Regions from separate parts of the Homo sapiens genome. Here region 1 is linked to region 2. The links are contacts of gene promoters, found by promoter capture Hi-C in human tissues and cell types (Jung and others, 2019). All regions are on one chromosome and are shown on one strand. Each heading gives the region's core, a stretch centred on a gene start or on the middle of the fragment in contact. The rest is flanking DNA. Distances are from core to core; before and after follow the strand shown. Region 1 overlaps SENP7 (SUMO specific peptidase 7). Region 2 holds the start of NIT2 (nitrilase family member 2).

Region 1 (3,736 bases), core at 659-3,158, 1.0 Mb before region 2:
CTGCTACACACTCTTAACCAGATGTAGCAAGAACTCACTCACTTATCATGAAGACGGCACCAAGCCCTGAAGGATCTGCTCCCATGACCTAAACACCTCTCACCAGGCCTCACCTCTAGCATGGGGATATAGTTCACTATGAGATTTGGTCAGGGACAATTATCCAAACTTAATCATTTTTAGTGAATATGTTTTAAAAAATTTCTTATATGAGTTTCTGTTAGTATTTGTCCTTATTAGGGTGCTCATCTCTTATTCATTTTAAAAACTCTCATTAAAGGTATTGACTCTTTGTAATATGTATTGTAAATTGTTTTTCAAGTTTGCTATACTACACTTTCTTTATAGTATCTTTGATATAGAAGACTTTTAGTTTATTTTGCAAAATATGTTAGTGTTTAATTCCTGTGTTTTGGCTTATCCCTGGCAAGACCTCTTTAACCCCAAATATGGAGATAAGTCAGCCAGCTACTGTTCTCATTTGTACTGCTTTAGATGAGCTATCAATTCCTGAACAAGTCTGTAGATTACTTTCCTAATTGAAGTTCTGATTCTTTTTTTGCCCTTCCATTATAAATATTTATTAAGAACTCCCTTTTAGGTCAGACTGAGCAGAATGTTTTAGTATTTTTAAATTTTACTTCCCATTGGGATTTTTAGAAATACTTTATAACTGCTAATGTAAAGAAGTCTAATTTAATTTCCAAATAATATATACCGAATTGTATTAGAAAATAGGCTTGGGTGTGGTGACTCATACCTGTAATCTCAGTGCTTTGGGAGGCCAAGATAGGAGGATGGCTTGAGGTCAGGAGTTCAAGATCAGCCTGGGAAGCATAGCAAGACCCTGTCTCTACAAAAAACTTTTAAAAAAAGAATTAGTCAGGTGCAGTACTGTGTGCCTGTAGTCCTATCTACTAAGAAAGCTGAAGCTGGAAGGTTGCTTGAGCCCAGGAGTTAGAGGTTACAATGAGCGATGATCAAGCCACTGCACTCCAGCATGGGTGACAGAGTGAGACCCTGTACCTAAAAATAAAAAAAAGAAGAAAAATATTTCATAAAATTATGTTTTACAAAAGTAATAAAGGTTTTATTGTAGCTAGCCACTCAGCAGGGATTGGTAATTAGCCTTGAGTGAAAGGGATCAAATTGCTATTTTAAATTGCAAGACTCTAATATAGACTTCCAACAGAGGGAGCCCAAAGCTTTTAAATGGAAGTGGAGGAGGTTTCATTTTTATTAATGTATTCCAGCTCTGTCATAGTTTCCTATATTCATGTCAGTTGATTTTCTTTTTAAGCTTTCCTTTGGTAATTTGGTAATGACAATAATCCACATAAACACTAAAGAAGATACTCTATTTTGAGATCATTTTCCCCTGTTAACTTAAAATTTCTCTTCTATGTTTTATGTCATAAATTTTCTTCTGACTAGCAATTTGAAAAACACTGATACAAATAGTGCATATATCCTAAGTTCAACTCCTTTATGCTAGAAACATTAGTCAGTTTTGAATAAAATTACTAATAATGATACTCATTTGCACGGTTAACTCTTGAACATTTGCATTATATGGTTATCACTCTTTTCAAAATAATATTTCATTATTATCTATATGTAATTTATGTAAACATTTAAACTTTTTCCTAATTTGAACAATAATGCATATTTATATTAAGAGATATATAGAAAAGTATGAAATTGATATTACCCATAATCCATTCCTCAATAATAAGCATTGATAATATTTTGATATGCTTTCATCTAAATATTTTTCTGGATTAAATGATTATAATCATGAAAAATAGTGTTATTTTTATTCATTTCACACTATCCTCTTTTGATATTAATCTTTACTTTAGGCCTATGAGATAGATAGGAGAGCAGTTAATATTTCTATTTTATAAATGTGGAAACTTTTTGAGGTTCAAAGAGATTAAGTGGCAGAGGTAGAACTATAACACAGGTCTAATATATATGAGATGCATTTAAGTTAAAAAACATAATGTTAAAATAAACACCCAAATGTTCACCTTCTATTAAAAAATAGACTATTATCAGCATCACCGAAGCCTTCTGTGTTCCCCACTTTGCCCATTCTGTCCCATTCCCATGCATTCGCCTTAGAATTAACCACTTTTCTGAATTTTAAGTTTTATATAATTGTGAACTTTAGAAAAATGATTCAGGTTACTGAACAATATGTATTACATGGCATGCATTTTTTTTGCCTAACATTTTTGTGAGATTCATTCATGTTGATGCATAGAGCTAGAGATCATCCAGTTTTACTTATGTATTTATTGTATTAATATTAAAAATAGATCTACCTACTTTTTATTGATGGAGTTTGGATTGTATCCAGTTTTTTTTCTCTCATAAACAATGCTCCTTTGGACATTTTCATTTTATATGTGTTGCCAGTAAATAGTATGTATCTGGATACTTCTCTTTTTACATTCAGTCTACATTTATTTTTAACTATAAGGCATAGTCTGTTTATATTTTATACTACTATTTTTCTTTATGCTTTTTATTTGGTCTGCTTGACTTTTTTTCCTTTCTTGTATTTTTTTTTTTTTTAGAGATAGGTCTTGCTATGTTGCCCAGGCTGGAGTGCAGTGGCTATTTACAGGCATGATTATAGTGCACTACAGCCTTGAACTCCTGGCCTCAAGTCAGCCTTCGAAGTAGCACACTATAGGTGTGCACCACTGTGCCCCACCCATTCTTGTATTTTAAAAATTAGTTATGTTTTGTTTTGTGTGTGTGTGTGGGGGGGGGGGCGGTGGTTTGCTTTACGTTCTAGAAGATTTAGACTCTTTCTATTTTTAAATAGTTTTCTATAAATTATAATATACTTGATAGACCTATCAAAGTCCAAAGTTAATTAGTATCTGTGTTCTCATTTTGAATAATAGGGACTTTAATCTATTTTAAGTACATTCACATTATTGTACAACCATTACCACCATTCATTTTCAGAACTTTTTTCATTTTTACCAAACTGAAACTCTGTATCTATGAAACAGGAACTCCTCATTCCTCTCTCCCCCTAAACCCTGACAGCCACCATTCTACTTTCAGTTTCTATGATTTATTTCATGACCCTAAGTACCTTAAATAAGTGGAATCACAGTATTTGTCCTTTGCTAACTGACTTATCTCGCTTAGCATAGTGTCTTAAAAGTTCATCTATGTTGCAGCATGTGTCAGAATGTTCTTCCTTTTTAAGGCTGACTATATTCCATTTTATGTATCAACTAAATTTTGTTCTATTCATCTGTTGATAGATAGTGGTGTTGCTTCTACATTTTGGCTATTGTGTGTAATGCCATTATGAACATGGGTGTTCAGTGTGTGTTTGTATCTCTCCTTTAAGTTCTTTTGGGTATATATCCAGAAGTAGAAGTGCTGGATCATATGGCAATCTATTTTTAGCTTTTTGAGGAAACATCATACTATTATTCATAGTGGCTGCACCATGTTACATTGCCACCAGCAGTGCACAAGGGTTCCAGTTACTCCATATCTCGCCAATACTTGTTTTCGTTTTTTTGATAATAACCATCCTAATGCATGTGAGGTGGAATCTCATTGTGATTTTGATTTTCATTTTCCTAATGAATAGTGATATTGAACATCTTTTCGTGTTGTTGGCCATTTATATGTCTTCTTTAGAGAAATGTTTATTCAAGTACTTTGCCTGCTTTTGAATTGGATTTTTTTTGTAAGT
Region 2 (3,731 bases), core at 1-2,500:
GGCAAACAGATATTTTGAGCTGTTATCAGAACAGCAGATAAATCCACTAAACGTCTCCCCTCCATTTCCCAGCGTTAAGCCATTCTCCCTCCTCAGCTTCCCAAGTAGTTTGGGACTAAAGGGGCGTGCCACCACACCGGGCTAATTTTGTATTTTTTAGTACAGACAAGGTGTCGCCATGTTGCCCAGGCTGGTCTCCAACTCTTGACTCGTGAACTCAAGCGATCCTCGTGCCTCAGCTTCCCAAACTGTTGGGATTACAGGCGTGAGCCACGTGCCGGGCCATGTCTGTGCTTCCGAGGGTGGGAAAGATAAAGCTCACCATGGCTACGCTGATGGCTTCCTCTCCTACACATCTCACCCACAAGGGCGGGGTCCTCAACTAAGCTTAGGACTGCCTATCATTCTGCAAATGACCCACTCTACAGACATGCTGCAGCAGGGAAACCCCGCCACTGGGCAGTTCCTCATGCTGAGGAGGAGACGCCCGTCACTCCATCTCATCTGTAAAGTGAAGACTTTTAAGGCTGCCCTAATATTCATCATAATCTAACAACGAAGACCTTACCAAGGGGCGGAAAAAAAGAATAAAATACTGTGAGCGAAGGAAACAACAAAGGAATAACATTTAAAGCAATGTGCCAGGTCCTTCACACATTAACATCATTGTGTGAGGTATCATTAACATCATTTTACAAATAAAGAAACAGGGGACTTGCAGGGGGAAAGCTGCACAAAGTCACTGAACAAAGTAAGTGACACAGCAAGAATCCAAGTCAAAATCTGGAGCTGGAAAGTGAGTGGGGAGACGAAGAACCGCCTGGGCACCTTTGTGCAGGGCGGGGCTGGAGGAGGTCACGCAACTTGAAAACACCCAAGGGAGTTGGATCCTACCACCGCGGCCCACACCGTGGAGAAATACACGTCCATCAGCCTCTGTCAAGCAGGACGCGGCGGGTGCCGGCGCGGCCGGGTGGCCTGGTGCTTTCTGGGCCTCGCCCGCCACCCCGGAAGCCTGGAATCCCGGGAGTGCGCCCGGCCGCCCGGCCACGCGATCCCGGACCCACGCGGACGCCCGCCTCAGGGAAGGCCGCGCACGGCGGGGACGCGGGGCGGAGGGGCTGAGCCGGCCGAGCCACCGCCGGCGCCGCTCCAAAGCCTCCCCCGCGGCCCGAACTCGAGCTGCAGCGCGCGGCCGCGCCACTTACAGGTCATGACTCTGCAGACAAGCACCACCTGCGGCGCGGACTGAGCGCTGGAGATCCGGCGGACCGCGGCGTCGCTACGGTGGGGCGGGGACCGCGTCAGAGGCCCCGCCCCACCCCTCCTCCTGGCCCCGGCCGGGAGGAGAGAAGGGTCTGCGTTCATTCCAGTGCGCCTGTAACACCAGGACGGACCAACGAGAAATGGTTAATTGCAACACAGTCCGGAAAAAGCATGCCTCGAAAGGCAAAGGGCAAAAGGGAACGGCCTAAGTCGAGGTGGTGTGCTGGTGAATGTCTTAACAACCAGACTTTTCAGGGAGGAAAGCCCTGATTTGTAGCGTTTGCTGATTCTCCGCAAAAGGACTGAACTTCTAGCTGGTTGAATCACCTCTGTGGCCAGGTTAACACCGTATGCTGATGGGCTTGAGCTATTTGAACAAGTCTCTGTGACGGGGACGGAATGACCCTGGTTGGTTTAGGCACGCGAGACGTCTGTAAAATCTGACTACAAGGCTGCTAGGCCAACGGGAAAGATGCTGAGGGTTCAACGCCATGCCCTCAACAAGTCAGTCCTCGAATACATTGTCATCTCTTTGCTAATATCCTTTTTTGTTTGTTTGTTTTAGACAGGGTCTCACTCTGTCATCCAGTCAGGAGTGCAGTGCAGCAGTCTCAGCCCATTGCAGCCTCAACCTCCCGGCTCAAGCGATCCTCCGTCCTCAGCCTCCCAAGTAGCTGGGACTACAGGCACACACCACCACACCTAGCTATTTCTTTTCCTTTTTTCTTTTTCTTTCTTTCTTTCTTTTTTTTTTTTTTTTAAGTTTTTTACTTTTAATAGAGGTGGGGCCTTGCTATTTTGCCCAGGCTGGTCTCAAACTCCTGAGCTCAAGACCCTACTGCCTTAGCCTCCCAAAGTGCTGGAATTATAGGCGTGAGCTGCTGCGCCCAGCCTATAGACTATGATTTTTGCATTTTTATTTATTAGATTGCTTTTTAATTTTCGTGTTTTGTGTTTTTGTGCCTTGTCAGACTTGTGGAACAAAAATCCAAAACTTAACCACCTTTTGGAATGCCCCAGAATAGTTTATACTGAAACAGATCTTGGTTTGTAAAAGAACACTATAAAAACATTTTGGGGGCAACTAGGGAGATTTAAATATGAACGAGATATTTGATGCTTTTCTGAATTATTTTGTGTGCTATAGTGTTGTGCTTGTGACAATTCTTTACTCTTAGAAAATGAGGAAGTATTAGGGATGAACCATCAGAATGTTTGACTTGAAAATCGTCAGCAAAAAGAAAACACATAAGATAAAGCAAATATGGCAAAATGTTAATTATTAAATCTAGGAGGAGGACACAGCTGTTCATGGTACTAGATTAAAACTTTGTAGAAGTTTAAAATTTTAAGCTTTCATAAAAAAAAATTGGGGGGAAATACATAGCAGTTATGGTCTTTCTGCAGCTTAAGAGACTATCTGGACTTGGCTTTGTAGCAGGAAGATCTTTAAAAACCTTTTCATTTCTGCTATGCTTATTAACCTATGAGGTTTCAGGGTCAACCTGTGGTCACTTACAACCTGTTAAAAAAATTCATCTAGATTTCCAAATTTATTGGACTAACATTGTAACTAATAGTGGTCCTAAACCTGGCTGGAAATGTTATTTGAAGTGCTTGTTCAAAATGCAAATTATTTCATTTTTTTAGAAGTGGATTCTTACAGTGTTGCCCAGGCTGGTCTCAAACTCCTAGGCTCAAGTGATCCTCCCACTTTGGCTTCAAAAAGTGCTGGCCTTATAGGCATGAGCCATGGCATCCAGGTGGAGATGCCCAGTAGGCAACCGGACCAAAGCCTCAAGCTCAGAAGATGTCTGGGCTGGAAATTGACTTGGGAGTCACCAGCAGTTTTAACTAAGAGGAAGCTCTGAATTTGGATGAGAACACACAAGCGGAGTATGAAAGGCACACGCAAAAGAAGAAGGGCCTGTGGAGCCTGGGAAGGAGCCATTAGAGGAGAAGGACCAGGCCGGGCGCCACTGCCTGGTGGAGGAACAGCTGTGTCCTCCTCCTAGATTTAATAATTAACATAATCCCAGCACTTCAGGAGGTGGAGGCAGGTGGATCAAGAGGTCAGGAGCTCGAGACCAGCCTGACCAGCATGGTGAAACCCCGTCTCTACTAAAAATGCAAAAATTAGCTGGGCGTGGTGGCACACACCTGTAATCCCAGCTACTCAGGAGGCTGAGACAGCAGAATCACTTGAACCTGGGAGGCGAATGTTGCGGTGAGCCGAGATTGTGCCACTGCACACCAGCCTGGGTGACAGAGCCAGACTCCATTAAAAAAAAAAAGAGAGAGAGAGAAGCAGGACCAGGAGAAGGCCATCAAGACCAAAAGCCTATGGGTACTGTGTCCCTCTGTCACATGCAGGGAAACTGCTGACTTGGGCACTAGGGGTGTTCCTAGAAAAGGAAAAGCTAAATGAAAGTGCGCTTTTTAAACCTTTCTTTAGAACTTTCTGG

Evidence for each region. Contacts are between HindIII fragments. The study calls those that stand out against the background at their distance.
Region 1: a fragment that was not itself captured here is called in contact with the fragment with the promoter of NIT2 in region 2 in 1 of the 25 tissues and cell types used here (hippocampus).

Annotation. Positions count from the first base shown.
Region 1 is chr3:101,379,486-101,383,221 of GRCh38, reverse strand. All of the region lies in intron 6 of SENP7 (SUMO specific peptidase 7), which reads left to right. Among named protein-coding and RNA genes, the nearest start is that of IMPG2, 61 kb to the right of the region's middle. The HindIII fragment of the contact is 3,862 bases long and covers 1-3,736 here.
Region 2 is chr3:100,332,276-100,336,006 of GRCh38, reverse strand. NIT2 (nitrilase family member 2) reads right to left here and starts at 1,250. Exons shown (of 10, transcript NM_020202.5): 1 at 1,209-1,250. The coding sequence starts at 1,215. RefSeq lists silencers at 228-522, 921-1,250 and enhancers at 491-570, 691-750, 771-820, 914-1,482. The HindIII fragment of the contact is 4,697 bases long and covers 1-3,731 here.